Linked DNA regions of Homo sapiens: all the other regions are linked to region 3. Evidence: promoter capture Hi-C in 16 types of primary human blood cells and fetal thymus (Javierre and others, 2016). All regions are on one chromosome and are shown on one strand. Each heading gives the region's core, a stretch centred on a gene start or on the middle of the fragment in contact. The rest is flanking DNA. Distances are from core to core; before and after follow the strand shown.

Region 1 (2,756 bases), core at 236-2,735, 130 kb before region 3:
ATACATACATACATACATACATACATACATACTGGAAGGTACTTCTAGAGAGAAGGATGGCTATCTAGAGCTGAAGTTGTCAGGAACCAGACACAAGTGGGCACCGAGAATTGGACTCACCCTGTAACCATGGTTACATGCATCTGGCATGTGTCACTTGGGGCATGGTACTGTTATTCCTTCTTCCAGTAAGGAGCAGCTAGATTAGGAAAGGCATCAGCCTGGCCCAAGCAGCTGACACTTCAATTCCTGGTTCTGATACCACTGAGAGCGTAACCTTGGTGCCTCAGTTTTGTTAGTTTATCAAACCATTCTGAAGATTAAATAAGATCTTGTGAATAATGGCACAGCCTCTGGGTCCCAGGATTCTCTGGCTCCATCAGTAGGAGGGAGAACCCCACCTGCCAACAGACATGGGCCAGGGGCTAAGAAGGGATGGTTGAATGCTAAAAGGAAAAACTTTTTAGTATGCAACTCCTAGTGTGGTTGGTTTTGAAGAAGTTTCAAAAAATTTACTTGAAGCCGTGCACTGGCTCCCTCAGAAGGCTACTGGAGGGTGCATTCCATCAAGTCAAATGAGTAAAACAAGAAAGAGAAGGACGCAAGATCCAGGACAGTCAATGAGAGAGAGGAGGCGGCGGAGGTGTGATGGGAATTTCCTGGCTGACAGCTGGGCAGCAGAGTGGAACAGGAGGTTGGAAGGCTCTGGTGTTTTTCCAGGAGAGGGAGAAGGAGAGAGGTAGAGAGGGGGGAGGGGAGGGGGGAGAAGAAAACAAGGAGGAGGGAGGGGGGGAAGAGAGAGAGGGAGGGAGAGGGAGATGGTGGTGAGAGAGGGAGGGAGAGAGAGAGAGAAGAGAGGAAGTAGGGGAGAGAGAAAGAGAGAGAGGGAGGGACGAAGAGGAAGGAAGGACAGAGAGAGAGAGGGATAGAGAGAGAAGGGAGAGAGTGGGGAGGGAGGGGGGAGAGAGAGGGAGAGAGGGAGATGGGGAGAGAGGGAGGAAAGGAGGGAGAGAGAGAAATAAAGCTATATACGTAAGTTAATTATAGTATATTCTTGCTTCAATATTCAATATCAACATTGCTACATTAATGAAAACATTAAGTATAGATTAAAGCAAAACCTGAGATATGTGCATATAGAGAAAAGCTGAAGTCCTCAACTACCATGATAGTTAAGAGATCATATCTAGAATCGACAAACCAAGAGAGCAGCAATGAATATTATTCAGAAGCACAGCAGCAAATAGTAGAAGCAACAGCTAGAACTGAAGAACGACTGCCTCCTAGAATATAAGGACACAAAGAGAAGGGACAAGAGGCTGCTGGGTACTCACACATCTTTTAGCAGCATATGACTTTCAAAACTGTGTGTGGGTAACCACTCAAAAATTAATAATTAAAGGTATACATGTTCATTCCAAAAAATACATAACAAGAGGACACAAATGGACTCTTACTATGTGTGCTATACTGCAACTTGCTTTCTTCAACTTAACAATGCATCTTAGACAACTTCTCCATCAGAGCTTTGCCCCTCTTCCTCATAGCTGCACAGAATCCAACTGTAGGATAGACCAGTATCAAAAGGGACAGTCTGGTTGTGTCTGAAAGTAGATTTTGGAACACGGAAGTGAAACTGCCTTTGCGAAAATTAAAACTGAGGAAATTATGACAATGAAAGAGATCAGACCTAACCGACTCCATCTTGCTTCTAACCTTTAAGCTGTCCCTGTTCGTTCCTGGGCGTAGGCCGAACTAACCTTGGAAAAGAATTTAGTTTACGGTTTGACTGTAAAACAAAATTGATAATAGCCCTTTCCAGAAAAGACCCTCTTCTTGCCTGGGGACCAGTATGCCTTTGGAGGGCTAAGAAATTAGCTGCAAGATTAGAAATTACAGTTTAGGGGTCATGCAGCTCCTGGCAAGAGTCTGAACCTCCCCAAATTGCTCCTGGGGATAACATCACTACTGTAAAACCTAAGATCAGTGCTTGAGGTATTTTGCAGACCCTCTACTAGATCAGCTGACACCATCCAGACTGGTAAACTGGCTCAACCAGTTGTGCGATCCCACCCAGGAACATAAGATAGCAAGGAAACCTAACTTTGACCCCCACTATGATTCCATCTCCAACCTGACCTGAATCAGCACTACCCACTTCCCAAGCCCTACCTGCCAAATTATCTTTAAAAATTCCAATTCCTTGAGTAATAATAAAACTCTGGTCTCCCACACAGCCAGCTCTGCAGGAATTACTCTTTCTCCACTGCAATTCCCCTGTCTTGATAAATCGGCTCTGTCTAGGCAGCAGGCAAGGTGAATCAGGTGAGCTGCGTTATTTGTCACCATACCACAGATGAAGGCACAACAGTTGTCCTCATTGGCTCTTCTGAAATGCTCATGGAAAAAAGATTTGTGGCACAGCAAACTTTGGCTGTTTCTGAGATCTGGCAAAATCTCCCTTGCCATTTAGACCACTGGAAACCTGCGAGTGGAGATTGGTATCTGGGATATACCTTTTATATATACCTCATACGCTCCTGCCTGAGGCAATCTCCTTTCTAAATTTCTGTATCCTTGGCTGGTTAAACGGGTAACTTATTTGAATCTTGCTGGGTAGGAGATAGTTCTCTTCTCACAGAACTATAACCCACATGAAACCACCCAGTTGTCTCAAGTCCTCTGCGATTACAAACAACACTACATTGAGCATCACTGTGCCCATAACTCTGCACATATACCACAAAGGCAACTGA
Region 2 (2,812 bases), core at 264-2,763, 93 kb before region 3:
TAAAATTAGTCAGGCATGGTGGTTGCACACCTGTAATCCCAGCTATTTGGGAGGCTGAGGTGGGAGGATTGTTTGAGCCTGGGAGGTTGAGGCTACAGTGAGTTGTGATCACACCACTGCACTCTGGCCTAGGTGACAGAGCAAGCAAGACATTGTCTCAAGGAAAAAAAAATATATATATATATATATATATATCTGGCTAAGAGGCACCCGTGCTAAAGTGGGAATGCACTGATCGCTGAGGCGGAATACCTGGGTTGAATCCTGGATCTGCCTCTTTTCTAGCCGTGAAGCCTCAGGCAGGCAACTGTACTATCCTGCTGATTACCCCATCCTCCTCTATAAACTGGAAATCCCACCACTGGCCATCCACCTCCCACCTCTGAGTGCACAAGAAGCTTCAACACAATAATATGGGAGAAGAGGTTTTGTAAACTATAAAGCACCATGCACATGTGAATGCTATTATCATTCTAGGGTAGTAGTTGGCCAAGTTTACTAATGAACACACACTTAGGGTTTCAATGAGTCTTTACCTAGCACATTCCCACTGCCCTGAGTCACATTAACCTACTTCAGATGCTAACTTGGCAGTGATTTTTACTAAATACTGAAGCTGAAAAACATAAAGAGTGGTTTTCCTATATTATCTCTCCCTTGGCTTAAACTGTGAAGCACCAGAACTTAGTGATCAGACAACATGACCTGGAATCAGACTCCCAGGAAAGAATCCCACCTTTACATCTTACTAGCTTGGTGACCATGGAAAGTGATGTGGCTTCTCTGTGTCTCAGTTTCCTCATCTGTCTATCCAAACCAGAACATTTCAGAGTGAAATGGTTTATCATCTGACCAGGACATCTGAGAATGAAAGCAGGTGATGTCAATGTTAATGCGAGGACAACAGGCATACACCAGAACGGTCCCCAGGCAAGTAGAGGAAATAAGGTGGCTCTAAAAGAAGGGATAATGCTGGGCATGGTGGCTCACACCTATAATCCCAACACTTTGGGAGGCCCAGGCAGGCAGATCACTGAGCCCAGGAGTTCAAGACCAGCCTGGGCAACATGGTGAAACCCTGTCTCTACAAAAAAAAAAAAAAAAAAAAAATCAGCCAGGCATGGTGGTGTGCAACTATAGTCCCAGCTACTCAGGAGGCTGAGAGGTGGGAGGCTCACTTGAGCCCAGGAGGTCGAGGCTGCAGTGAGCTGTGATTGCACCATTGCACTCCAGCCTGGGTGAGAGTGAGATCCCGTCTCAATAAATAGATAAATAAATAGGCCGGACATGGTGGCTCACGCCTGTAATCCCAGCACTTTGGGAGGCTGAGGCGGGCGGATCACGAGGTCAGGAGATCGAGACCATCCTGGCTAACATGGTGAAACCCCGTCTCTACTAAAAATACAAAGAATTAGCTGGGCTTGGTGGCAGGCGCCTGGAGTCCCAGCATCTCGGGAGGCTGAGGCAGGAGAATGGCATGAACTCGGGAGGCAGAGCTTGCAGTGAGCCGAGATAGCGCCACTGCACTCCAGCCTGGGCGACAGAGCAAGACTCTATCTCAAAAAATAAATAAAATAAAATAAAATAAAGAAGAAAATGATAACAGTGCCTGCCTCACAGCCTTGTAGTGATGACTAAATCAGATAAAAGAGGCAAAGCACACAGTACACACTCATTAAATGCTAGCTACGATTTTTTTTGTCCTTACTCCTTCCATTCATTCAGCAAATCCTTAGTGCCCAGGCATGACTCTGGGTGCCAAGAAAGTAACAGGAAGTCAGTGAATAAGAGCTTATCTGATCAACAAAGACAAAAGGATTTATTATTATCCCAAAGTCCCTGATTCAGGAAAGCTATTTCAGTTTGACTAAAAGTGAGCTATAAATGAATCCCATTAAGTTGTATTAATTAATGCCCTTTGTAACTTAGCACTCAATGCTTCAAGGCATGTTACGATATTCGCTCCCTTTCATTTCTATGCACACCCCATTATGATGAATTACATATGGCATGTCCACCAAGACAGCTTTACAGAACCCATACATTATGAAAGCAAAGTTGCTTTAGCTTGCTTTTGCATGGAGATGCATCTGTATCTTTTGCCAAGAATTAAGCATTTTAGTTCAGTATACTAGAACAATTTTCTCTAAAAGTCAACACTCACCATGAGAGGTAGATATTCCTTATTTTACAGAGACGTTCTTTAACCTCTAGGGGCTTGGTGCTGTAATCACAAATTCCTTTTCCTTCCTCCTTTTGCCGCCCTCCATTTCAGTAAAATTGGTCTCAATTACTATGACCACAAATTCTCACACCCTAATGTTTCTGTACTCAACTACGGGGCCTTGCCCTTTCCTCCTCCTCCTCCTCCATGTTCACATTTTACGAGGCACATTCTCAGTCAGCCCTCCTTTTGTGCTAATTTCTGAGGCCATTACAGAGGCCATATTCCACTCCTTCGGCAATTCTTAGATCTCAAACAAATACCAGCCAGACCCCATCACTGGAAAGGCAAGCTACGGACCTCCAAAAAGAGTCTGCCTATGGAGTAAGCTGTTTGTGCGTAATTCACAACAAACTGAGGGGCTATCAGTTTCTGTTGTACTTCATGCCTCTGTCTTGATTCAAAGAAGCTTAAATCAATGGTGTGTGTTTTGATCTCGTGCTAATTATGCAGATGTGTTTAGTTTGTAAAAATTCAACAGCCGTACCCTCATGCGCATTTTATGTATGTCTATTATATTGCCATAAAAATTCTTTTTAATAGCTTACACCATGTAAACCTCTATATAAACTAAGCATAGTTTACACC
Region 3 (3,066 bases), core at 438-2,937:
ACACACCAAAAGTGCTGAGCAAACTATGCAACACTGTGCTGTCCCTATGGTCACAGAGCTTACAGTAGAGGAGATAACTGTTACGCACAAATATGTAATACTGCTACGAAAAAAAAAGGTGTTGTATGAGAAAATGGAACAGGAACCAATTTAGACTACAGGTGGGAGAGAAGGGCACTGTGAAAAAAGTGACATTTAAGCCAAGGGGACAACAGATCACCACTACTTAGAAAAGGAAAACCTTTTTTGGCAAATGACCACAAATGGGATTTTAACTTTGCCTGTCAACAACGGACTGGGTTAAACCTCCTCTTTTCCAATCCTTCAGGCTTTCTGAACATCCTGACTAGTGTACTGGAATCCTATTACCTGAACACAGAAAGGTCTCACTTTATTATGATTTATTATTATCTGCAGCCTTCCTATGCCTGGCCTAGGAACATCCAAAAATAATCTGCCAGAGGCTGAAAAACAGAAGCTGGCTGTCAGCAAGAACATTACCTGGGTAGACCAAACATTTAATAGCCCAAGTAATCATAAGTGCCTTGCCAATAAAGTGGCAGCTTCTCTGGGCAGCAAGGTGGTTCCAATGCTCCGGGGTCTAAATCAAATGGGACCCAGGGGGTTCAAAGGTTAGTTGGCTACTTCGAACTGATGTTTACTCAGTAAATCAAAGACCGGATCACCATTTCCAGGTCCCAGACCCTGAAGACTTAAAGGACAGTATGGGAAGTGGCCTTTTAGCATCACGGAGCAGAGAGCTCGCCAGGCTGGAGGAAGGCAGCAGCGAAAGGGTCGGGGCCGGGAGGAAGGGGGGCGCAAGGAGAGGAGCGTCAGGTGCTCTGGACCCCGGGACTGCGAGCCAGACCAGGAACTGGGGCGTTTCCCGCCCCACCCCCCAACCCCTGTCAACCCCCAGCAAAGGCAACCCAGCCCCCTCCAAGACCCCGAGGTTCCAGCTTCCCCCGAGACAGGACCAGGAAGACACCAGCAGCCCCGCGCAGGGCCGGAGCCCACCAGGTCCGGGTGCCCGTGTCCGCAGCGCAGAGGAGGGCGCGCTCGGGTGCAAAAATGGCCAAGACAAAACTCTCCCCGCCCACCCGAAAAACCAACCACACCCCCTGCATCCCTCAGCCCGAGCCGCCCGGGGCCAGCCCCCGTGATCGTCTGCTCAGGCCCCCGCGGGTTCCCGTCGGCGCCGCGCGCGGGCTCGGCGGGCACACGGGCGCAAGTGGGAGTGAATGGGGGTGCGCGAGGCAGGCGAGGGCGCCCACCGCGGTGTCCCCCGTCCGGACCCTGCCCCCGGGGCGCCCTCCCGGGCTCCGCGGTTCTGGGACTGGCGCGCCGCCCTCAAGGCTGAAGTGGACGCCCGGACGCGGGCGGCCCCCACTCACCCATTGGCGTCGAGCCGGGCCGGGCCGCCGAGGCAGCGTGAAAGTTGGCGGAGGCGGGCGTGGGGGTTGGGGCGCCGGGATCGGGGCGCTGGGATCCAGGCGCGAGGGTCCGGACGCGGCGGCGGCTGGGCCGGCTTCTTCCTCAGTGGCGGCGGCGGCGGCTCAGCGCCGCCCGCTGCTGCCTCTGCTGCTGCTGCCGCTGCTGCCCCGGGGCGACTCCTGCTGCTGCTGTTGCATCGCGGCCCAATGCGCCCGGCTGCGCCGGGTTTCCTGCTCCCCGCGAGTGGAAATTGCGAAAAAAAAAAAAAAAAAAAAAAAAAAAAAAAAAAAAAAAAAAAAAAAAACAGCGCCGCCCAGCCCAGCGCCCGGCAGCCGCGGCCGCGCCGCCCGCTCTCCCCTCCTCCTCAGCGCTGCCGCGAGGCTCCTGCAGCTCCGCCTGCCGGGGACGCGCGGCCGCCGGGCGGGGGCGGGGCCGGAGAGGGGCGGGGCCGGGGCCGGGGCCGCGTCGGGGCAGGCGCCGGGGGCGTCCCTGCGGCTGAGGGGCTTGGGCGCCCTCCTCACCGCCCGCGCCAGAGGCACCCCTCTCCGCGCGGCTGCCACCCACCCGCAGCGGCTGGGCTGACGCCCCGGGAAGTGCCGCGAGACTCCTCGAGACCGGAGGAGAGGGGCTTCTTGGGGGAGGGGCGTGGGAGTGCAGGGGCACGTGGAGAAGGAGGAGAAGGGGGCTGAGCGGGAGGGGGCGACAAGAGGTGGAGGACGGGCTGGGGATGGAGACCAGGGCAGGCCCGGGGCCAAACGCCTGACCAGGGTGATGGCAGGTGGCCCTGGGGCATCGAGGCAATCTGGAATGAGTTTTCCCGGGGGGCTGTTGGAGGGGAAGGAAAAGGGTCCCTTGGAAGGGAGAGAAACGCGGCGTCCCTTCGGTGGGGCGTGGGAACGCAGGCAGGCCAGGTGCGAGTTCCGCACAGAGGAGGCGGTGGCACTGACGTGGGGAAAAACGGGCGAAGGACGCAGCGGGGCCGAGGGGACGCATCGCCTCGCTGGGACCCGCCTAAGCCCCGCCCCAGTGCCTGGGCCAGGTGCGGTTCGGGTGTTCAGGAATGTTCCCGAGCTCTGACGTTCCCAGGAATCCGCTGAGATGAGGGCTGGCTCCCTCCCTAGCAGGCATTATTGTGCCTTACTGACTCCCAGACCTGGACGGCCGACCCTTGAGTGGGCGCTAAAATGTTAACAGGGAATCCGTGGGCATTCGTGGGCAATTCAGAAGCTCCGTTTTGGGTCCATTCACCACCACACCTTTCGCCATAGATACTCTGCCTGCCACCACATTCCTCTACCGGCCCGTTATTTCCTTTTCCCTTTCCACCATCTGGTGGTAGGAAGCGATAGTGAACTACATGGGAGACATTTAGGCAAAGAGCACGTAAGACAATAGAGAAATTACATCAGTGGCCCCTGGAAATGGAGGAGGCTGAGGGCTAGTGGACTCAAAAGGGACAAATGAAAGCCGACCCCCTACCCAAGAGAGGGGCTGTCTCCATACCTCACCTGTGTTGGCGGGGCAACTCTTGTAAATTGGTTACCGTCCTGGGATTTCTGTAGAAAATTGTTCTTATAACTGTTTCATGAGTTTTTCAAAAAACCTCAAAGTCAGGGTCTTACAAACAAGAGA

Evidence for each region. Contacts are between HindIII fragments. The CHiCAGO score rates a contact against its expected background, and 5 or more counts as called.
Region 1: a contact is called between a fragment that was not itself captured here and the fragment with the promoter of SH3KBP1 in region 3, in 10 of 17 cell types (activated CD4 T cells, monocytes, total B cells and 7 more). The highest score is 9.7, in activated CD4 T cells.
Region 2: a contact is called between a fragment that was not itself captured here and the fragment with the promoter of SH3KBP1 in region 3, in 12 of 17 cell types (activated CD4 T cells, naive CD8 T cells, total B cells and 9 more). The highest score is 13.8, in activated CD4 T cells.

What each region holds. Positions count from the first base shown.
Region 1 is chrX:19,760,418-19,763,173 of GRCh38, forward strand. All of the region lies in intron 2 of SH3KBP1 (SH3 domain containing kinase binding protein 1), which reads right to left. Among named protein-coding and RNA genes, the nearest start is that of SH3KBP1, 130 kb to the right of the region's middle. The HindIII fragment of the contact is 4,616 bases long and covers 1-2,756 here.
Region 2 is chrX:19,793,143-19,795,954 of GRCh38, forward strand. The region is part of intron 2 of SH3KBP1 (SH3 domain containing kinase binding protein 1); the gene reads right to left. Among named protein-coding and RNA genes, the nearest start is that of SH3KBP1, 93 kb to the right of the region's middle. The HindIII fragment of the contact is 2,235 bases long and covers 397-2,631 here.
Region 3 is chrX:19,885,913-19,888,978 of GRCh38, forward strand. It overlaps SH3KBP1 (SH3 domain containing kinase binding protein 1), which reads right to left and starts at 1,688. Exons shown (of 18, transcript NM_031892.3): 1 at 1,395-1,688. The coding sequence starts at 1,398. RefSeq lists silencers at 1,090-1,229, 1,710-1,779, 1,840-2,139. The HindIII fragment of the contact is 9,463 bases long and covers 1-3,066 here.